2 separate regions of the Homo sapiens genome follow, and region 1 is linked to region 2. Evidence: promoter capture Hi-C in human tissues and cell types (Jung and others, 2019). All regions are on one chromosome and are shown on one strand. Each heading gives the region's core, a stretch centred on a gene start or on the middle of the fragment in contact. The rest is flanking DNA. Distances are from core to core; before and after follow the strand shown. Region 1 overlaps NSD2 (nuclear receptor binding SET domain protein 2). Region 2 holds the start of RGS12 (regulator of G protein signaling 12).

Region 1 (4,613 bases), core at 23-2,522, 1.4 Mb after region 2:
AATCACAAATATACAACTACTCTGTCAGAACTTTTTTTTTTTTTTTTTTTTTTGAGATGGAGTCTCCTTCTGTCACCCAGGCTGGAGTGCAGTGGCGCAATCTCAGCTCACTGCAACCTCCGCCTCCCAGGTTCAAGTGATTCTCCTGCCTCATCCCGAGTAGCTGAGATTACAGGCATGCACCACCACACCCGACTAATTTTTGTATTATTAGTAGAGATGGGGTTTCACCATGTTGGCCAGACTGGTCTTGATCTCCTGACCTCAGGTGATCCACCTGCCTCAGCCTCCCAAAGTGCTGGGATTACAGGTGTGAGCTACCACACCCGGCCAGAACTATTATCGAATAAAATAGAAATTCAAACAAAGTACAAAGTCTAATTAAAGTCTCAGTTCATGAAAAAGTTAACCGGACATCTGAGACAGTTGAAATGAATGGCACCACTTCATACACTAGGAAAAGGGCTCACGTCTTCTACATGCATGGGCACCATACGCTAGACAGAATAACCCGGTGTTTCCTTGGTTGGTTTCACTCCCCTGCAGGTACCAGGCAAACTCTGTCCCTGGACACATGCTGGCAGTAAGCGAGGAGCACAAGGACCCGGGGCTGGCTTTGTATCTATGCTGCACTTTTCCTGCACAGCCTGTTTAGTATTCCCATTCAGTAAACAATAACATGAATTACTAATAAACTAAATAAAATCTAGGTTCATTGCCTTTAATGAACTGTTGACTTTTTATTGACATGTAACACATATCTCTAATGGACTTTGATGCCAGTTCATTACTTACATCCTGAATAATAAGCCCTATAGAGAGGTTATGGTGTTTGGGGGTTTTTTTGTTTGTTTTTTTTTGAGACAGAATCTTGCTGTGTCGCCCAGGCTGGAGTGCAGTGGCATGATCTCAGCTCACAGCAACCTCTGCCTGTCAGGTTCAAGCAATTCTCCTGCCTCAGCCTCTTGAGTAGCTGGGATTACAGGTGCACGCCACCATGCCCAGCTAATTTTTTGTATTTTTAGTAGAGACGGGGTATTACCATCTTGGCCAGGCTGGTCTCGAACTCCTGACCTCAAGCAATCCACCTGCCTCGGCCTCCCAAAGTGCTGGGATTAGAGACGTAAGCCACCACACCCGGCCAAAGAGGTTATTTTTAGTGACAATTTTGTCCAATCTAAAAAACAAGTATTACTCAAAGCATTTGGATGTCTGTTTTCTTGCAGAGCAACACACCATCGGTTTCTGTGATAACACCCCTGGAGGGTAAGAACCTGCAAGCAGCCTTTCTCAATGGGGTTCTGTAAGAAATGCAAGCCTTCTGCTGAATACCAGCCTGGAAGGAGCTGGGTGCACTGACACCTGCATCTCATGTGTGCTCCCATGCAGGGAAACAGTGGCACCAAGAGTCACAGAGCATACACTCTGACAGGTCAAGCAAACCTGGAACACAATTACCTTCCGAAGACTGTGCTTGTCCGTCCTGAGTCTTTTCCTGGGTGTGTCCTCAGCTTCAGCATCTTCTGTAGGGTCCTGTATCCTCTTTGTGTGGTTTCTTTTTTTCCCATTTACATTACCTTGGAATGGGGAATGGGGAAAATGTACATGAAAACCACTCCAAAAGCTGCATTTGAAGCACTGTGAGAACCTACCCAGGGCATTCAACATACAGATCCAGCCCATGATGGGTTTCCTGTAACCCTGCTGATTTCCAGGGCTTATGTCTTACAGATCAAATCTCTTTACAACAAAAAAACTGGTGACTATATCTAACCTTAGGGATTATATTAGCATCTGTTTTATCTGTTTTTTATATATATATATATATATATATATATATATTTTTTTTTTTTTTTTTTTTTTTTTTTTTTTTAAGATGGAGTCTCGCTCTGTCACCCAGGCTGGAGGGCAGTGGCACAATCTCAGCTCACTGCAACCTCCGCCTCGTGGGTTCAAGCCATCCTCCTGCCTCAGCCTCCTGAGTAGCTGGGATTACAGGCACGTGCCACCACGCCCAGCTAATTTTTATATTTTTAGTAAAGATGGGTTTTCACCATGTTGGTCAGGCTGGTCTCGAACTCCTGTCCTCGTGATCCGCCTGCCTCGGCCTCCCAAAGTGCTGGGATTACAGGCGTGAGCCACCGCGCCTGGCCTTATAATTATAATTTAATGTATTAAAGCATTAAATTTAAATATAACCCAGTATTTTATCTATTTATTTATTTTTGAGATGGAGTTTCGCTCTTGTAGCTCAGGCTGGAGTGTAATGGCACAATCTCAGCTCACTGCAACCTCTGCCTCCTGATAGCCCAGTATTTTAAAAAAATCTTTTCCTAGGCCGGGCATGGTGGCTCATGCCTGTAATCCCAATACTTTGGGAGGCTGAGGTGGGCGGATCACCTGAGGTCGGGAGTTTGAGACCAGCCTGACCAACATGGAGGAACCCCATCTCTACTAAAAATACAAAATTAGCCAGGCATGGTGGCACATGTCTGTAATCTCAGCTACACAGGAGGCTGAGGCAGAAGAATCGCTTGAACCCAGGAGGTGGAGGTTGCAGTGAGCCGAGATTGTGCCATTGCACTCCAGCCTGGGCAACAAGAACGAAACTCTGTCTAAAAAAAAAACGAAAAACAAAAAAAAAATCTTTTCCTTACTAACATTCAAAGACTTGTGGAATTTAAGTTGAACTTAAAAAAAAAAACAACTTGCTACTTTTTAAACATTTCCTTAAACATGTTAAGTAGTAACACAACATTTATATATGCAAATTAAGGGCTTCCTCCATGTTTGCTCAGCTGTTCCATGTGTTAGGTGTTCCCAGGAATAGCAGTTAATCCAAGACCTAAGGCATCCAAACAATATCAACCTAAGACGGTAAGGTGTAAGTGCAAATTCTACAGAGATGATTAATTTCAACATGCCAATGTTTATTTTAAATATAAATCCAATATTATCATTTGCATGACTGCTTTACGGAGGGGTTCAGGGTTTTTATTAATGGACTCTTCATAAAACATCTTGCAGGGCCGGGCGCGGTGGCTCACACCTGTAATCCCAGCACTCTGGGAGGCCGAGGTGGGTGGATCACGAGGTCAGGAGATCGAGACCATCCTGGCTAACAGAGTGAAACCCCGTCTCTACTAAAAATACAAAAAAAAAAATTAGCTGGTCATGGTGGCGGGCGCCTGTAGTCCCAGCTACTCGGGAGGCTGAGGTAGGAGAATGGCATGAACCCGCCAGGCGGAGCTTGCAGTGAGCCGAGATCGCGCCACTGCACTCCAGCCGCCTGGGCGACAGAGCAAGACTCCAACTCAAAGAAAAAAAACATCTTGCAGAAGGACACTGTTGCCCTGAAGGACGCTGTCACCCTCAAGCCTCACTACTGTTGGGACAGGAGACACCAGCAAAAGAGTGCTCAGCTCCACAGGGTCCAGCAAGGCCTCAGGCAGAGGTACAAGTAAGTGTCCGTGCCCTGCTGCCAATGCATTCACAGAGCCTCACCTCAGGTCTAGGCCTGAGCCCAATGCGCAAGAAGAGTCAGCAGCCAAAGCGTGGGGGCCCTCACCAGCTGCAGTTCCAGCCTGGTGTGATGGGGGCCAGGCAAGCAGCCCTCGTGAAGCCCACTCCTGGCCACACCACTGCAGGCTGGTGCAAAGGCAGTCTGGGGAAGAAGCCCGTGGAATGCTCGGCAGCAGGACCTGCTCAGGCACTGCCAAGCATAGGCACCACATGGCACAGCCAGCCAAACTCTCGAGGCCCCCCTCAGGCAGGTCTGCCTTCAGAACACCCGTTCGTGAGCACAAAGCCAGCCCCGCGCCTCGCTTTCCCACAGGCGAGGTCCTTGACACAGCACATCCTCGACACAGCACCTCCTGAGCACCTCTCCATTCATCCAGGATGAGGCAGCAGCCGCTTCTTACAGAAACAAGCAACAGGGGCATCTGTATGGATTTTCATTTTTTTTGAGATGGAGTTTCGCTCCTGTTGGCCATTCCATTGGCTGGAATCCAATGGCACGATCTCGGCTCACTGCAATCTCCGCCTCCCAGGTTCAAGCGATTCTCCTGCCTCAGCCTCCCAAGTAGCTGGGATTACAGGCATGTGCCACCACGCCTGGCTAATTTTGTATTTTTAGTAGAGATGGGGTTTCTCCATGCTGGTCAGGCTGGTCTCAAACTCCCGACCTCAGGTGATCTGCCCACCTCGGCCTCCCAAAGTGCTGGGATTACAGGCGGGAGCCACTGCGCCGGGCTGGAATTTTTTTTTTTTTTTTTTTTTGGAGATTGACTCTTGCTCTGGCGCCAAGGCTGGAGTGCAGTGGCGTGATCTTGCCTCACTGCAACCTCTGCCTCCCGGGTTCAAGAGATTCTCGTGCCTCAGCCTCCCGAGTAGCTGGGATTACAGGCATGCACCACCAGGCCTGGCTAATTTTTTTGTATTTTTAGTAGAGATGGGGTTTCACCATGTTGGCCAGGCTGGTCTTGAATTCCTGGCCTCAAGTGATCCACCCACCTTGGCCTCCCAAAGTGCTGGGATTACAGGTGTGAGCCACCGTGCCCAGACATCTGTGTAGATTTCTAACACTGAGGTCATGGGCGCGTGACAATGAT
Region 2 (4,550 bases), core at 1,595-4,094:
TGGGAAGGGAAATGTTTCTAGGAATTCCACCAAATTCAAATAAAATGTAAAATGGTCTGGGCTTTAGGATTTTGTGTGCTTGAAGCCCTGCATGTGTTAAGTCGTAACTAATGAGTTGTTTATTCCTTCAGCCTGCTTTTTGTTGTTGTTGTTGTTGGTTTGTCTTTGTTTTTGAGATGGAGCTTTTTTTTTTTTTTTTTTTTTGAGACAGAGTTTTGCTCTTGTCACCCAGGCTGGAGTGCAATGGCGCAATCTTGGCTCACCGCAACCTCCGCCTCCCAGGTTCAAGCGAATCTTGTGTCTCAGCCTCCCGAGTAGCTGGGATTACAGGCGTCTGCCACCACACCCGAATAATTTTGTATTTTTAGTAGAGACGGGGTTTCACCATGTTGGCCAGGCTGGTCTCGAACTCCTGACCTCAGGTGATCCACCTGCCTCAGCCTCCCAAAGTGCTGGTATTACAGGCGTTAAGTCACTGCACCCAGCCCAGCCTGATTATTTTGCTTGGTCAGTCTCAGACAAAAATAAAGGTCCAAAGTCAATGTGATCCACATACTGTCAACCAGGCCTGCAGAGCCCACTCAGCCCCCTTCTATCAGCCGGAAGCGCTGACTAGCGGCAGCCTCAGCCTGTCCTCCATCTCCTCTACCCCCGACCTTCCCACAGCAGCAGCCAGGCCGGCTGGGTCACCAGCTGTCACCTCTGGGCCCTCACCACCTCCAGGACCTCACTGAGTCCCAGCTCCCAGCGCCACAGGTCTCCTCGGCCTGGCCACCCCTTCTTCCCCGAGACCCTCATCCTAAACAGGGCAGAAAGGGAGCCAGCCCTTGACCCTGGATTCCCTCCTCTTTGCAGTGCCTGTCGAGTGCCTCCCTCCCACCTCCTGACCCTCCCCAGGACATGCCCTCAGGCCGCGCCACCCCTGCCCTCTCCTGAGCACTCCACAGGTCAGTACTGTACCTCCAGTCCACGTGAGGGGCCTTTCCTCCGCCCTTGTCTTTGTCAACCTCCCTGAGACCTCCGGTCACCACTGCCCTGTCGCTCCTCCCTCTGCTCTGCCAGTCACAGAGGCATCCGCATCATTGCAGTTACCAGGGCTAGAACTGTAAGCCTGTCTGATGGCAGGTTCCAGCCTCAGGAGGTCTCAGAGATAAGGCTGGACTTGCAGTTTTAAGAAAAAGACCCAGACAGGGGTGCACCAACTTGTGCAGGCTCAGCCACCCCACTGCCCTTGCCTGAGCCCCTGCCCTCAGCCAACATGGCCTCCCCCACCTGCAGAGCATCCAGCTGAGGCACCACGCAGGGCCCGGGCACCGGATACCCATCATCTCAAGTCCCCAAAAGCACTGGCCACGATGGACCTTTTTATATCGCTTTTTCAGGGGAAGAAACTTCGCACTGTGACAATTACTTTCTAAAGTGAAATATAAACTGGTTCTCCCTTACTCAGAATTGCTCTGCCCTCCCCACGTCGCCTTCTCTAGGGGAAGGCCAGCAGGACTCCACCCCAGCAGCCCTTGCTGCCCAAAGCCGCCTCTCTGCCCTCCTTGGTAGTCTCCTTGCTGTGAATGGTGGGGCTGCTGCCTTGCCTGGGAAGGCCCCCCAGCGCCCCTTCTGTGCAGGCCTTGCCGGCCATCCTGCACGTCCCTGTGGCCTCAGAAGGGCCCTGCACAGGACGGCATGGACCACGCTGAGGACTTCAGACAAAGACACTCTTAGCCCTTGCAGCAGCTCCAAAGACAGGTCCAATGAGGAAACTCAGGCACAGAGAAGGTGGTCACCTGCCCAGGGACACATTCCCAGCAAGTGACCAAGCAGGTGAGAGGCCAGGTGGTCCTCTCTGTCCACACTCCACGGCTCTGGGCCCCCTCTGTGTTCACCCTCCACTGTCTACACTCCATGGCTCTGGGCCCCTTCTCTGTCTGCACGGCTATGAGACTCTGTCTACACTCCACAGCTATGGGTCCCCTCTCTGTCTACACTAGATGGCTCTGGGCCCTCTCTCTGTCTACACTCCACGGCTCTGGGCCCCCTCTCGGTCTACACTCCACGGCTCTGGGCCCCCTCTCTGTCCACACTCCACAGCTCTGGGCCCCCTCTCTGTCTACACTCCACTGTTTATACTCCATGGCTCTGGGCGCCCTTTCTGTCTACACTCCACAGCTCTGGGTCCCCTCTCTGTCCCCATTCCACAGCTTTGGGCCCCTCTCTGTCTACACCGCACGGCTCTGGGACCCCTCTGTCTACACTGCACAATCGCGGCACCGCGGCTGAGGCGACCCCAGGTCGCTGCAGTGCGTCTGGAGTTCGGGTCTCGGAAGGCAGCTTCTGCCCTAACAAAGCGGCCGCTCGTGGAGTCCGACGAGGGAACCCTCCCAGCGCTCCCGGGCGCATCTCGCCCGCGGGACCCCCTGCCCGGCGCCGCCCCCGCGGGTCCCGCCAAGGGCCCGGGCGGGCCTCACAGCGCGGGGCCCCAGGAGGCCGCGCACCCGCCCGGCCGGAGGCCCCACAGGCCCGCGCCCCGCGCCGCCCGCCCCCGCCCCCGCCCCGCCCCGCCCCGCGCCGGGCCCGGGACCAGGAGCCTGAGTCAGGCCGGCGAACAAAAGGCAGGGCGGGCGGGCGGCGACCCCGAGGGGACGGGCGCCGCGCAGGGCTGGCCGGGATCGGCCGGGAGGCGGAGGGCGCGGGCGCGCGCCCCGGAGACGAAAGAAAGAGCGGAGGCGGCGCGCCCTGCCCCCGCCCCGGCCCCGGCCCCGCACACCTACCGGGCCGCGCCGCTCGCTCCCGCTCCGGGCGCTTCGGCCCGCGCCACCGCCCGCGCGCGCAACGGTCGCCTCGGCAGCCACCGCCCCCCGGGGTCGAGGCGAGGGCGGGGCCGAGGCCGGAGGAGGGGCGGGGACGGAGAGGGGCGGGGCGAACCTGGTGAGGCGGGGCCAAGGGGGTGGGGTTGGGGCGGGGCGATGCGGGGGCGGGGCACGGGGCGGGGCGAGGGCCTTCGCGTCGGGACAGCGTGGTAACGGGACTGCCAGGGAAGCAGGGATGAGAAGAAGCGAGGGACGGGGCCTCCACGGCCGGGGGCGGGACTTCCGTTGGGGGCGCGGCGGCGCTGGTGCGCACGGTGTGTACCCGCACTGGCCCGGCCCTGGTGCTGGGAGCGACTGCGTTCCCGCAAGCTGGTTTTCTCTGCCTCCGCTGGCCCGGGACACCCTGCGAAGGGCAGGTCGGTGTGGCCGGGAGGAGCCGCCCCTGCCTGGGCTGTCTCTGTCCTTCGCCGTCGGTGTCCGAGGAAGTCCCGCTCCCGTTGGGTCTCTGTGCCCGGGAAACCTGGCTGTGGGGAGTCAGGCCCCGGCGCCCTGGCTTTTCGGCTGGGCAGATGCCCGGAGCTGGCGGCAGCTTCGGGGGCGGCGTGAGTTCCCGCGGCGAAGCCACGGGGACAGCCAGGAAAGGCCGTTCCCTCCGGGCCCCGGGACGCCCGCGAAGGCGGCGCGGTGACTGCGGCGTCCAGCGGGTCTGCCCCTCCCGGAGCGCGGGCAGCAGCGAGGGCGGGACCGGAGGCACCGCTGGCACGAGAGGAGGAGCTGCCCGGCCCCGGCCTGCGCCTCTGGCCCTGTCCCAGCCGCCGCCTTCACCCTTTAGGCCGGAGTTCCTTCCTCGCCCTCTTCGTGTCTTCCTTCCCCGGCGCTGGGTCTCCCTGCCCCTTCCTTCCTGCCTTCCCCTCATTCTCTCCCGCCGCGTTTTTCCCTCGAGACGCATCCGTCGCTGCTGTTCACGCTCCAGCCCTGCCGCCCGCCCAGGGACTCGGCCCCTCTCGGGTTTGCTTCTTTCCTGTCACCTGCCTTGATGGGCTCAAAACGCTTCCCCTCCGTCCCCGCCACCGCCCCATGGTTTCTTGGCAGCTCTCCATCATCTAGTCTTGTGTGATTAGTTTGGATCCCAGGAGGAAACCAATGGCATTCTCAGTGGGACAATTAATTAAGAGTCCAGCAGGGTTCCCGCTGGCAGAGGCGCGGTCCGGGAGCCGGGAAGCCACAGGGCGGTGCTGAATTGGGACAGGTAACAGCAGGGAGGGAACTGTTTTCACCTGCAGGGCTGAAGGAGCGCGGCCAGAGCGGTTACAGGAAGCCAGACAAAGAGAGAGAGATACTTAACAGGAGCTGCGACCTATGGCCAAGGGACACAGCCAGCCCTTGATGACCCAGCAGAGAGAGCCAGGGAAGAGGCCAGGCGCGGTGACTCGTGCCAGTAATCCCAGCACTTTGAGAGGCTGAGGCGGACAGATCGCCGGAGCTCAGGAGTTCGAGACCACCCTGGGCAAGATGGCAAAACCCCATCTCTACTAAAATACAAAAAATTAGCCAAGCGTGGTGGCACGCGCCTATAGTCGAAGCTAGTTGGGAGGCAGAGTCAGGAGAATCACTTGAGCCCCGGAGGCGGAGGTTGCTGTGAGCCGAGATTGTGCCACTGCACTCCAGCCTAGGTGACAGAGTGAAACTCCATCTCAAAAAAAAAAAAAAAAGAGCCAGGAAAGAAACTGCCCCCACCCTGGCCCC

What was found. The method cuts DNA at HindIII sites, captures the fragments that hold promoters and counts their contacts. A contact is called where the count stands out against the background at its distance.
Region 1: a contact is called between a fragment that was not itself captured here and the fragment with the promoter of RGS12 in region 2, in 1 of the 25 tissues and cell types used here (psoas muscle).

Annotation. Positions count from the first base shown.
Region 1 is chr4:1,932,108-1,936,720 of GRCh38, reverse strand. It overlaps NSD2 (nuclear receptor binding SET domain protein 2), which reads right to left. Exons shown (of 22, transcript NM_001042424.3): 7 at 1,459-1,577. Among named protein-coding and RNA genes, the nearest start is that of MIR943, 52 kb to the left of the region's middle. The HindIII fragment of the contact is 3,686 bases long and covers 1-3,115 here.
Region 2 is chr4:3,291,315-3,295,864 of GRCh38, reverse strand. RGS12 (regulator of G protein signaling 12) reads right to left here and starts at 2,844. Exons shown (of 18, transcript NM_001394154.1): 1 at 2,766-2,844. RefSeq lists silencers at 490-685, 2,709-2,758, 2,769-3,248, 3,429-3,538 and an enhancer at 1,470-2,055. The HindIII fragment of the contact is 22,100 bases long and covers 1-4,550 here.